3 separate regions of the Homo sapiens genome follow, and all the other regions are linked to region 2. The links are contacts of gene promoters, found by promoter capture Hi-C in blood cells and fetal thymus (Javierre and others, 2016). All regions are on one chromosome and are shown on one strand. Each heading gives the region's core, a stretch centred on a gene start or on the middle of the fragment in contact. The rest is flanking DNA. Distances are from core to core; before and after follow the strand shown. Region 1 holds the start of PECR (peroxisomal trans-2-enoyl-CoA reductase). Region 2 overlaps SNHG31 (small nucleolar RNA host gene 31). Region 3 holds the start of SMARCAL1 (SNF2 related chromatin remodeling annealing helicase 1).

The links. Contacts are between HindIII fragments. The CHiCAGO score rates a contact against its expected background, and 5 or more counts as called.
Region 1: a contact is called between the fragment with the promoter of PECR here and a fragment that was not itself captured in region 2, in 1 of 17 cell types (monocytes). The highest score is 6.3, in monocytes.
Region 3: a contact is called between the fragment with the promoter of SMARCAL1 here and a fragment that was not itself captured in region 2, in 1 of 17 cell types (total B cells). The highest score is 5.1, in total B cells.

The regions. Positions count from the first base shown.
Region 1 is chr2:216,080,153-216,084,665 of GRCh38, forward strand. PECR (peroxisomal trans-2-enoyl-CoA reductase) reads right to left here and starts at 1,657. Exons shown (of 8, transcript NM_018441.6): 1 at 1,466-1,657. The coding sequence starts at 1,589. It overlaps TMEM169 (transmembrane protein 169), which reads left to right and starts at 1,767. Exons shown (of 3, transcript NM_001142311.2): 1 at 1,767-1,827. RefSeq lists enhancers at 1,259-1,338, 1,369-1,418 and a silencer at 1,609-1,868. The HindIII fragment of the contact is 11,582 bases long and covers 1-4,513 here.
Region 2 is chr2:214,812,996-214,817,350 of GRCh38, forward strand. All of the region lies in intron 1 of SNHG31 (small nucleolar RNA host gene 31), which reads left to right. Among named protein-coding and RNA genes, the nearest start is that of SNHG31, 4.9 kb to the left of the region's middle. The HindIII fragment of the contact is 208 bases long and covers 2,250-2,457 here.
Region 3 is chr2:216,409,848-216,414,234 of GRCh38, forward strand. It overlaps SMARCAL1 (SNF2 related chromatin remodeling annealing helicase 1), which reads left to right and starts at 2,637. Exons shown (of 18, transcript NM_014140.4): 1 at 2,637-2,801; 2 at 4,009-4,045. It overlaps SMARCAL1-AS1 (SMARCAL1 antisense RNA 1), which reads right to left and starts at 2,653. Exons shown (of 5, transcript XR_001739881.1): 1 at 2,578-2,653. RefSeq lists enhancers at 2,399-2,693, 2,437-2,526, 2,657-2,746. The HindIII fragment of the contact is 8,553 bases long and covers 1-4,387 here.

The sequences.
Region 1 (4,513 bases), core at 407-2,906, 1.3 Mb after region 2:
CTCATTGCAACCTCTGCCTCCCAGGTTCAAGCGATTCTTGCGCCTCAACCTCCCAAGTAGCTGGGACTACAGGTGTACGCCACCATGCCTGGTTTGTATTTTTAGTAGAAATGGAGTTTCACCATGTTGGCCAGGCTGGTCTCAAACTCCTGACCTCAGGTTATCTGCCCGCCTCGGCCTCTCAAAGTGCTGGAATTACAGGCGTGAGCCACTGCGCCAGGACCAATAGCAAGATATTTAAACGGAAGCATTATATTTCATTGTTATTGATTTAACTATTTTCCTTATATTGGATTTTTAGGTAATTTCCATTTTTTCACTACTCAAGACTACATCCTTGCATGAAAATCTTTGCTTGACTCCGTTTCCTTAAATTCCTGAAAAAGGAATTACTGTCATAGAGCATAAACATTGTGAAGGTTTTTGGATCTTTTTTTCCAAATTGCCTTCCAGAAAGTTTGTAATAATTTACATTCCTGCCTTCTCATTCCTGCATCAACACTTTAATTTTTCCCAACATTTCAAAATTTTGTTAGAAAAGTTAAATCTTACTGTTTCATATTTTATTACCAATAAAGTTGATTATTTTTTCATATGTTTCTTGCCTGTCTGTAGTTCTTCTTTTGGAACGCTTAGTCCATACCATTAGTCTAATTTTTCTATCAGTGTGTTGGATTTTTTCTTTATTTGTAAGAGCTCTTTATGTATAAGGCTGTTGGCCGAATCTAGTGGCTCAGCCTGTAATCCCAAAACTTTAGGACTCAGAGGCAAGGCAGGAGGATCCCTTGAACCCAGGTGTTCGAGACCAGCGTAGGCAACAGAGTGAGACCCTATCTCAAAACCAACAAACAATTTATCTTATGTTGCAAATATTTTTCTTCATATGCCTTTAAACTTTATATATTTTTTTAATTCAATGAGGATTTACACTTTCATACAGGTAGATTGATTTATGTTCTCCTTTGTGGTTTATTCCCTCACTTATGTGTTTACAAAGGCCTTCCTTCACCCAAGTTAAGGTAAATATTCAGCATATTTCCTTGCTGTGGTTAAGAGATGTGAGAAGATACTATGAGAGACTCACTATGTTCACAACTTTTTCCAGTTAAATGAAGTCTTCCCACGTTTCCTAATCACTCACATTAAGCATATAGAATGGATTAATTTTAAATCTGAATATAAAACTAATTGCACAGCATGTTTCACTGCTCTTCTTACTGCCTACCTGGGGCACAGTCTCTTTGGCCTGAGTGGTCTCTTCAGTTTTTAACGAGTGGCTCCACAATTCCTTAGGAAGAGCTGCTCTCTTCTGTCTCCCTGGTGGTCGTAATTTCGCCCACACCTGCCCCGTCTTTGCTCTGCAGCTCCACACTCCCTCAGCCCCGCCGAGAGCTCCTGGCTCCCGTCTCCAGGTTACCCCAGGTCACCACAGCCACCTCTCTGCACCAGCGGCCCGCTCACGTACCCAGCTCCAGGAGCTCCTTCACGATGGCTTTTCCGATGCCCGTGGCCCCGCCGGTGACGATGGCCACTTGGCCCTGCAGCAAACCAGGCGCCAGGTAGCTCCTGCCCTTAGCCCAGGAGGCCATCCCTGCAGCGGGGTGCCAGAGCAGCTGAGCGCAGGCCCTTCTGGGTCTCAGGGACATTCGAGGCGGGCGGGCGGACAGGGCGGTGCTCGAGCCCACGTGACCACCAGAACCCCGCACCCTCCCCGGCCCGGCCCCGCCCCGCCCGCCGGCCGCGGCAAAGCCGCATCCTCCCGGAGCAGAACCGCTCCCCGCCGGCTGTCCGCAACCTCCGCCAGCGTCGGTCCCTGGGCAGGTGTGGGTGAGACTGCTCGTTCGTTTCTTTAAATTTCGATGCCATTGGGGAGGGTGGAAGGGAAATGCAAAAAAAAAAAAAGAAGAAGAAAGAAACAAGCAGGGTGTGCTCTATTTCAAAAATTCAATCCTCAGGGCTGAAGCTCTCACGATTAATTAAAATTAAATCTCCAGTGCAGCTGGAAAAAGAAAGGCTGCTGCTCGGCGCCCTCGCTGCGCCCGCCTGCCGGGGTCGGACGTCGGCGATGCTGTGGCTCCAGGTGCTGTGTGCCGCTGGCTGGGAAGGGGAGAAAGGGCAGGCTTAGCTGAGGGGGAGAAATGCGGCTTTCAGATCCTTTCATCCTTCGGGAGGGAGCCCGGGAAAGAGAGTGAAGGGGAAGAGGAGATGCGGTTGCAGTTTTCCACAGAACCAAGAGAATAAACGATTTGAAAAAATAAACTCAGGCCCACCTCCGTCTCACCTCCCACTCCCCACCCAAGAATCAAGGGGAAAGATCATCTTTACCAGGTTTGAGACCTGATCCATTTCAGCTGAGCTGCATAGCGAGTCCAGAAGAGGATCTTTCCTTGAAGGGTGCACGCTTCCTGCAAGATGCATCTGTAGGTGTTTGAGATCATGTCCTGTAGTTCATTCCTTGTGCAGGAGGGTGAGCCCGCTGAGGATGGGGAAAATTTCTCGTCTGTGTTATGGTGCCCAGTAACAGTGATTTATTATTCAGATCTGCTCCTTATTTTTCATCTTGCTTCCCGCTCTGAACCCACCAGAGTGAGATTACACCTGGACTGGCCTACTGAGACTTCACCCTAAGAACTTGGTCGAATGTGCCAGTTGCTGTGGTCTTAACAATCCAGATGGGATGCTATTTCTAAGGCTGTTGTCAGAGTGTTGCATTTTCCCCGGACAGGTATTAAAATAATATAAAGGCAAATAAATGCCATCATCCTTTTGTTGGACCTACCACCTAGGATTCACAAAGCCAATTGGAAATGGGTCTGGTTGACAGAGGAATCAGACCATCACTTCCTCCACCAGGTCCCACCCACCAGCGAGGCTGCAGTTCTTGTTGGACAGCTACACTTCCCTGTTGCTCCATCCTCTTGTCCTTCTCTGATCTCTTTTTAGAATCACTTCTCCCTCTATCTTTGTTGCTGACAGATTCAAATCTACACTCGTTAAAGAAAGGAATAAATCTCCTGGTTACCATTTGCTAGATAGTTTATCCAGGAATCACTTAACTCTACTACTTAAGTCAATTCTGTAGTTAGGACCAAATTTTTAAAATTACAACGCCATCACCTCCTTTAAAACAAAGTAAATTCAAACAGGAAAGCTCAAAGTGTTGTTGCAGAAACATATAACTCCTCTTGGTTTGATCCCAATGACAAGGTGTTTTTTTTTAAGGAAAAGAAATATTGATTCAGTTCTGAGGGGTATCTTATTCAAGAGAAGTCCAGACTTTCTTTCTTGTGGGTGGGGACACTTTAAATTCTTTTAAATGATAACTTTATTGAAGATATAACTTAACATGATTTATGCCCTGGTCTGGACCTATAGATTCTTAGAGGTGTGCCAGGGTGGGTCAGTGGGAAGCTGGCTGTGCTGCAGCTTCCGTGTGGCTGCTGAGCGGACTGAGAGTGGGATTCTGATGTCTTCCAGTGAAACAGGGACTGGGGCCTGCAAACCGGTTATGCCTACTGAGGATGACAAGGTGCCATTCCTCAGCTGCAAGGAAGTTGCAGGATGAACAGTCAGAAGGCGATTTTTCATGATCCAGGCAGAACCTGCAATTAAGAGAGCTTTGGGGTCTCTTCAAGCGATCTTTTGTTTAAAATTAGGAGGCATGATCTCTTTGCCTCTGCCTCTGACCTCTGTCAGGGTTTGAAAGTCCACTAATCCGCTAAGTTCCAGGCCAAAAGGCCTGGAAGCAGAGCAATAGATCTGCTGCTTGGAAGCTCTTTGTTTTGAAATTTTAGTTCTGCCTCTGGTTGAGGCATCTCTTCCGAAGGCAACCACGCCATGCTGCACTGACCACTCCTTTGGTTGAATCAAATGCTGCTCTTCCCTGTGCTCTGCGTCACTGCCCTCTTTGTCCTGGGGAAAAAGGCATTCCTGTGGCCAAGGTCCTCCCACACCCCCGAACCTCTCCCCACAGCTCTGTCATACCCCATTAGCAATGACTGCCTTCAGCTTCCCACCCCTCCCCCACCCCATCTGCCTGGTAACTTTATTTTCTCCCCTCTGCAAAGCAGCTGCTAGCTCAGACTGACAGGGGCTTGTGGGATTCTCGACATTTAGACTCCCAGAATCTCAGTGCTGAGAGAATGTCAGTGAAGCATCTGGTCCTGCCCCTACCTTGAAGCAAAACTACCTAGCAATTGTGCCATAACAAGGCATATAAAGGAGCTTATTGATGTCTTTTTATTAAACTTCTCCTTAGTCTCAGGCTTTCACAAAAAATAAGCTACTCCTGAGTTGCTACCACTTCACCCAGTCACTTAAAAAGATTTATCGAGCATCTATTTGTTGGCCTACTTCTATGGTACCACTTCATAGGGCTTGAAGTCTAGTAGAAGAGCTATGCAATAAATAAGTAAAAGAAAAATAAATAATGACAAATGTTGGTAAGCCTTACACAGGAAACAAGCTGTTGTGATAAAGAATAATGAGAGGCAGAGCAGGGAGTCAAGTTTTT
Region 2 (4,355 bases), core at 1,104-3,603:
GAAAAAGAACGAAAACTTAAAACGTTAAAACCTGGAGAGATACTATGGTGTTAATGGGGTAAATTGAGGATTTCAGGAGATAGATTGTCCTACTTATAATCCCACTTTCACTAAATAATTGTGTGATTTAAACCAAGCCTTAAGCTCTCTGAGCATTAGTTTCCTTGTCTGCAAAATGGGGATAATATTTATCGGGTAGATTTGGAGGACTATTAAATAAGATTAAATGTAAAATCACATACACCATAAGTACTCAGTAAATGGTAACTGATTGAGGATGATTATATATAATCAGTACTGTTAATGCTTTATTTACTAAAGAATAACACTGAACATTTTTATCAATTTTTTTTTATTAAGGGCACAGTTTTTTTTTTGCGGGGGGGCGGGGGAGACAGAGTCTTGCTCTGTCACCCAGGCTGGAGTGCAGTGGCACAATCTCAGCTCAGTGTGGCCTCTGCCTCCTGCGTTCAAGGGGTTCAAGCGATTCTCGTGCCTCACCCTGCCGAGTAGCTGGGGCTACAGGCGTGCGCCACTATACTTGGGGCACAATTTAACTGTGATCAGAGTAAATGAAAATTTCACATTTTGGTAAAATGATTTGGGACCAAACATTTATAACTGGCGTATTCATACCATGCTATTAAATGAATTATGATGCAGATACAATTAGTTCTTTCTACTGTTTGTTTGCTTTTTTCCTTTCTTCTGCCATTGTCCTGTTCCATCTCCCCAGGGGTCATGACATTCGTGGCAGCTGTTTAATAGTGGCCATAATGAAACTCATAAAGAGAATAAGCAGGGTTACTCTCCGATGTGCAACTTCCCATTCCATTTTCTTCCTTCCAGCCTTGCTTTTCTACAGCTTAGCTTGCTGGTGCTTTGCCTTTAGTGGAGATGGGATGTTTGTTTTGAACCAACTCTTCCTCTTAACCCTGGATCCTGAGTTTCAAGGGCACATTCCTTCTCCCATGGGGTACATCCAACAATGTGTAAAATCCTGGAATTCTTGTCCCAGAGAAAAAGTTCTGCAGGGAACTCCAGCCATCAGCAGGGTCTCAGTAAAGCCATGGTTTAGGACATGAACAATGTCCTCTTCTTCTCACTTTAAAAAGGGCTAAATGGTATCATTTCTTTTTCAGAGTTTTCCCTGCAAGGACCTCCTGTGTACATAAAAGTTTAGACTTGTTGCTCCATTTCACTCCTAGTCTGTTCTCTTCCTAGTAAGCAGTATTCCCAAGTATCCTAGACTCAAAATCATCCATCCCTCCCCCACTGTAACACTGTAGTCCTGGGTGGATTCTGAGGCATGCAGATAAGCTTGCTTCAGCCTTATTTACCTATCCTCCTCTCTCCAGGCCCACTTAAACCCTCATCCCCCCGACTGCTTCAGTTACCCTCTGTAGTGTTACCATGCTATGAAGGCATCTCCAGCCTTGAATTCTTTTCTGATCTTCAGGCTTATATAATGGTTTGTTGAAAACAGTCAAAATGCTGTTTTCTCTTCTGTTGTGTTATGAAGTGTTTTACAAAGAGGTAAATCTTCCTCATATTCACTTGGATAAACATATATAACAAGCAAAATGGGATATCCATAATACCCAGACTCTACTCCCAAGGAGTGTAAAGATATCTCACAAATTCTTACCTTTATATTAATTCTTCTCTGATTTTTAATTATGGTATTATGCACTGGAAAAGGCCACTTCGACTTCCTGAGAGCATTCTTTTTGTCAGATACAAATTTTGTTTGCAAGCACCCCTCTATGAAGTGTAGTCCCCCCACAAAAAAATGTAGTTTGAAACATTTGATAAGGAGCAATTGAATATGGTAATTGATGGAATAGAGCAGACCATCCCAGCATCTAGGACTGTGGTGTGTGCTGTGCACATTTGACTGAGCTTGCCTTTATATGATGCTATTAAGGTAAAGTCATATGCTTTGTGCTGTTTTTTTTTCTGAAATTCAATGTGGCGTAATGATTAAGTACACGGTGATCTGGAGTCAAGCAGAACTGAATTATAAACCTAGCCTTGACATTTCCTACAATTTTGTCCATTGTGTAACCCATCTTGGAACTTAGTTTCATCTTTTGTAAATTTAGGGTTAATATATGTCAATCTCATACTCAAAGGGTTGTGGTGAGAAAGGAATTACAGTTTATGAAACTGTCCTAAACCAGAAGTGCAGCACAACCAATGGACATCCCTTTGCAATGGACTGTCCTAAACTTTAATATATATATTAAAGCTTAAAACACAATAAGTGCACAACATATTTTTCCATTGTTAGGACTGGCATTGTTGAGTTGCATGAAGCCAGCTACACTGGCTTATGATTTCTCCTATGAAAGAGTACATATTCTAAGCAAAGAACCACTTATTCTGTGGCTATTGGAACAGAGATACTTGCAGTAGCAATTCCTATGCAAATATAATGCAATCACCTGGAAAGGAAGCTTAAATCCTATTTACTGATTATAGTCTCTTTTAGTATCATCTCAGATAAAGTATCCACCTGATTCCTAACACCATCGTTGGCATAATATTAGGACGTGACAATGAAAATGTTTATAATTTTGTTTCATTAACTTAAACATCTTTTATTTACATCATTTTGTTGCTCATTTAAGAACAAAAAAAAGCCTAAGCAATTAAAAACAGTAATTTTGTCCTACGTACTAGAGACAGCATATATGAAGCAAACAAACCACCCATGAATATCATGATTAATGTGTATTTCAATCAGTTCAATTGTGTGTATATGTATTGATCAAGTTATTGGCTGCAGTGTACTGTACTGAACCGTTTTAGCATGCCACAGTCTCTTTGACTAGTACATACCAACTCAGTCCCTATGTCATGTACACCTTGGCATTTAGTTTAGAATTACCCAAGTCTCTAGAAGCATCTAGATATTTTAAGATTGTTTTTGAAAGGATGTTAACTCCATTCTTGTGGGCACCTGCCAAATTTCTGTCACAGGCTTAAAAGTAACTAGTCTAAGGACATAGTTACATTACTATGACCCCACAGTAGTTGTTTTAAAGGTTTTGGTATCTTCTGTACTTCCTGATCATTTATCAAATTCAGTCTGACACACATATTTCACTGGTCATTGTTTTTTGTTCAATAGACTTCAGAGTTCAGCCCATTCCACTGCCTTTTATTGCTTGCTATTTTTAAGGAGACACCTCAGTAGAAATCCTCTTTTTCTGTACAGTGTAATTACTGAAGCACATAAAGTGGTTATAACAGGAATTTATCACTTTCAGGTGGAAATACTCCCAGCCAAATAAAAGATAGAGTAGGAATGCCAGAAGCAATTTATAACAGGCTCACTGACATTTTGTGTTGAGAAGCTCTACCACTGAATAAGCATCAAGTCATAAATCTCTGTAAACGTGATTAAAGCAAGCAAGTTATACTTTGAGGGGATACTATAATAAAAGGATGCTGTGATGCAAAGCAGGAAAATTCTGTTGACAAAAATCACCAAAAACAGCTGTCAGTAAAATTTACAAACAGCTTGTTTTAAATTCTGTTGGATTCTAGCAGCTGTTTGTTTGCACATAAAATGTTCATTTAGGAAATGAGCATTGGCCCTAGTTTGGGTTCCATTGTGTTTCAAAATTCTGTAATCAGTTTAATCAAAATTCATGCAATAATTTAAATTTCATTCAAAGCACAAGTGAGAAGTAACCAATATATTTAAATATGCCTCATATACAATTTGTGTTCAATAAATATGGGAATAAAAAAAAAAGAATGACTATATACCATTATCTGTAAAAGCAATGATCAATTACAACATGCATTTCAGCTTAATTTTTCTTCATCCATATATATTCTTTTAGAAATTATGCCTTGTTCATATTGGACTCATTTTACTCTTATTGTTAATAATCCTTAAGAGCCCTTCAGCAATATATTTAGAATTTAGAACGCTGACTTAAAATTTAGTTACAATTATCAGACATAGTCTATTAAATTTCGCTCATGCCTTTAGTTACTTTTCTCACTATCTCAAAATATAGCTTATATATTTTTTCATCTGTAAAGTAGGGATAACAGAAAATACTTTACTGCTATTATATGGATAAAATAAGCTAATACACTTAGAAAAGTGCTTGGAACATATTAAGTTCCTAATAAATGCTAGCATTTACCACTGTACAAAAAACTCTAGGTTCAAGAATAATAAATTGATCAGAATTTTTTTTAGGTAATAAGAGCATGTGTGTATATATATGTATGTGTGTGTATATATGTATATATAAGTGTGTGTGTATATATGTATGTGTATATGATATGGTTTGGCTGTGTCCCCACCCAAACCTCACCTTGAATTGTAA
Region 3 (4,387 bases), core at 1,387-3,886, 1.6 Mb after region 2:
ATTGCAGCTTGACCGCTACAGCTGTCTTCTCCTCTCCTTTCACTCCTTGTTTCCTGTGTTTTCTTCCAGGCCTTTAAACTTTTTTTACTAAATGAAGTTTCATTATAATCTACCTTAAGAACTGGTGAAATACAGTTTTTTAAAAAGCCTTGCATACAGTAAGACCTCAGTAAACGATGCTACTGACAAAGCAAAGATGCAACTATTGAGTGGGGTCTAATTAGTTTACTTTCTGAAGATGATTATTCCCCCCAAATGCATTTTTTTTTGTTGTTGAGATGGAGTTTCACTCTTGTTGCCCAGGCTGAAGTGCAATGGCATGATCTCAGCTCACTGCAACCTCCGCCTCCAGGGTTCAAGCGATTCTCCTGCCTCAGCTTCCTGAGTAGCTGGAATTACAGGCATGCACCACCACGCCCAGCTACTTTTTGTATTAGATGGGGTTTTGTAGAGATGAGGTTTCACCATATTGGCTAGGCTAGTCTCGAACTCCTGACCTCAGGTGATCTGCCTGCTTTGGCCTCCCAAAGTGCTGGGATTATAGACATGAGCCACCACACCCGGCCTCAAAGGCATATTTTAATTTCCTATTCTTAGAATTTTAGAATGTTAGAGCTAGAAAGGTAATCACATCTTCTAACTCAATTCCAGACTTACTGAATTGGAATTTCTGGGGTAAGATCTGTGAATCTATAAGAATTCTAGTATCTAACATGAGGATCCACTGGTCCACAGGCCCTCTTAGCATATGTCAAAGCAGGGTATCATTTTACAGGTGAGACGACTGAGGCCCAGGAAAGCGAAGTGATGGTCATATGAATCGGTGACAGACATGAGTCAAGTGCACGGCACCCAGCTTTCTTAGTAAATTAACTGACTGTTGGGAGACAGGAAGGGCAGGGACAGGTGTTCATTAACTAGTTTCTGTTCACACTATACAGTAGGAAATGAGCGCTAGGTATAGAGAAACGGACGATATAAGAGATTTACCTCAAATAATAACAACATCCCTCTCTTACCTGTTCTGGGATTTCACAGTTCACTAAGCACTTCCCCTCATAATACCTTGCTTTGATTCTAATAACAAGATTTACCAAGGTGGTATTGTTTTCTACATTTACTTTACAGATGAGAAAATGGAGGCACAATCACTGGGTATGTCAGGTCAATAAAAGGGGTAGAGCTGAGATTTGAATACTTTCTACTACTAAACCTCACACAGATCCCCTAAGACAGGCAATGTCTTTGTCATTTAAGACAAATGGGCTGGGCGCAGTGGCTCACACCTGTAATCCCAGCACTTTGGGAGGCTGAGGCAGGTGGATCACTTGAGGTCAGGAGTTTGAGACCAGCCTGGCCAACATGGTAAAACTCTGTCTCTACTAAAATTACTAAAATCAGCCAGGCATGGCGGCATGCACCCATAATCCCAGCTATTTGGGAGGCTGAGGCAGGAGAATCATTTGAACCCAGGAGTCAGAGGCTGAAGTGAGCCAAGATTACACCACCACACTCAGTCTAGGCAACAGAGTGAGACTCTGTCTCAAAAAAAAAAAAAAAAAAAAAAAAAAAAAAAAAAAGGAAGGAAGGAAGAAGGGAGATTATTTATTGTTTCAAAAGTCACACAAATTCTACATTATTATTTTAGAAAATTCAAATCATTCTGAAAAATAGAGATTAAAAAGCTGAAAAGTGTATTTCATGCCACTCTGCTCCTGAACAGTTTGGTGACTTTTTAAGTTTCCTTCCCAGACCTTTATGAGTTTACATACATGTACAGGTAAGGATGAAAAAAAAAAAAATCAAACTACACACATTGCTGTGCTTCCTTTTTCTTAGCATGTCTGGTCCATTTTTTCAAATCCTTTAGTAGACTTGTTTGTTTTTAAATGAGCCATGTTTGAAAATAGAACAATAGCAACATTCATATGCACACTGATAGAGAAATGTTATATTTATCACCAATGGTGCTCAGGATGGCTCAGGATGTTGGTGCTCAGGATGGGGTAAAGTGACTCTTTAAGTCTCATGACTAATCTTCTCTCAAGAGGAGGGGCTATGGAATCAGAATCACAAGCTAGCTTAATAAAGCCTTGAGAAATATTATCAAATAGCTGTCTTAGTTTCCCCCTCTGTAAAAGGGGGACAAGAATGTGTTCCATAGGTTGTAGTGCGGTTAAATGAGGTAACTCATATTTATGCTAAACACAATGACTGATGACTACAATGATGACGATGATGGCAGCCGGGCGCAGCGGGTGGGGCTTAAATGGCAAGTATAGCAATACCAGGAATGGATGCCCCGGGGAGATACTTTTTATTAAGAGCTGCCAAGTTAGTATGGCTGTCTGGGATGTCCTCTGGAGACAGCCGACTCCGGGTTTGGAAACCTCAACGTCCTAGGCTTTCAGGACCTAGTGTTTGGCTAAACCTCTGGAGAACTACAACTTCCAGGGTGCACCACTTTCGCCCCGCCCATGACGTTGCAGCTCCCGTTTCTCGCCAGGCTCCCGGCCCGAACTACAAATCCCAGAAGACACTGCAGCCCCGCTCGCGTTCTCGTCTCATCATTCTTACTTTTGGAAGCGAAACTGCGGCCGCGTTGCCTGCTGGGAAATGTAGTTCAGCGGTGGCCTAGCCCTTCAGGCCTGGCCGCTACAATAAGGCTGGCGAACTCGCAGCGCTTGAATACCCGTGGCCTAACCGTCCACTCGGAAGACCGGTCCCGCTCGGGAGGCTCTGCAGTCGCGCCTGGGGTCAGGGCCGGGGGCGAATGTGGCTCGCGTTCTAGGCCTCCCTGGGTGAGAAAGTGGTAGACTGGCAGGAAGGCGGCGGAGGCGGACGAGACCAATGCCAGCCTGGAGGAGGAAGTGGGCCAATGGGAAGGGTGAATCCAAGTGGAGATCGTAGGGGTGGGAGTGGGGCGTGGCGCCCGCTTACCTTGAGGCTGGGTGAGGCTCGCCCCGAAATGCGGGGCGTGGGGGGCGGGGGGCAGAGGTCCCTGCCTAGAGGGGAAGAGGGGCGTCCATGTGGCGGAATGGATTTATGGTTTGGGGCTGATCAGTGGGTCTTATGGCCGAGTCTCTCTGGTTAGTGGAGACAGCTTACCAGGCCTGGGATCTGGGGAGTTTGGAGGTGCAGGAGATCCCTGGTTGGAAACTTAGGCAGGAGTGTGTTACCCAGAGAGACTGAGGGCTTCTGCTGTGCACCTCCAAAACCTTTTCCTAACCTCTTCACCCCTTCCTAACTGCTAATGGTTGGAGAAGGTGGAAGTTCTCTGGGGATAGATACTTCGTGGTGGGGGAGGGGGGAGGGGGGTTGGGTTCTGGCCAAAGGGAGCCCCAGCAGGGAAGGAAGGCTTTGAACCCTATAGCTGCCCAGAGGCCTAAGCAATGCTACTGGAGTACCCCTACATCATCATTGTAACCGTTACACAGCATTACATTAGATGCAGCCTATTTAGTCTGAACCAAGCCAGACAAATTGGTGTGTCCTGCCCGCTGCTTCTAAAATATTGTAAACATGTCTCAGCTCATAGGAAAATAAATGTTCCGGGTAAATTCATGGAAAAAAATAATCAGGGTGCAATATGGAATGTTTACAATGATCCTACTTTATAATAAATTCTTATATCTCCTAAATATGTGCCATTTTGTTATGGATGAAAAAAAATCCGAACTATATACTCTAAATTATTAATTTCAACTGTGGTTATTGATGGCTGGTAAGATTACAGAGTAATTTTATTCTTTTTTGTTTACATCTTTATGTAGCATCTTAATTTGCACAGTGAACACATAATTTTTTTTTTTCTGCTCCTTATTTTCCCAGGAGAGTCAGTCAGTTGCTCCGTGTGTTGTGTTGGAAGTCAGGTCCTAAGGCCAGCTGCTCTGGCTTGCACTGAGCCACAGGCAGACTGATTTGCCAGGAATGATAAAAAGGGGTGAATGTGAGGGGAGAATTCAGTGTGCAGGCTATGGGAGGCTAATGCTTTTTTCCTTCTTCTAGGTTGGAAAAAGACTATGTTAGCAAGTGTCACGCCATGGTATGTGGTTGGTTGGTCTATTTCAGTCTAATCTATTATGCTTTCTGGTTAAAAATGTCACCTTTCTCATTATCTGATGGATTTACGTTGCAATGCATAACTTTCTTAGGTTCTGATAACTCACCTTGGCTGGGCCATGTGAGTTATCAGAAGAGTTACTCACCATTTTGGCAGTGCTTCGAACCATTGAGTTACCATGTGAGTTACCATGTGAGAAGGAGAGAAATATTGCCTCTGAAATGCCTTTTTAGCTTTGGATTTGCTTTTTGCTTTTTTTTTTTTCTTTGAGAGTTTTGTTCTTGTTGCCCAGGCTGGAGTGCGGTGGCACGATCTTGGCTTACT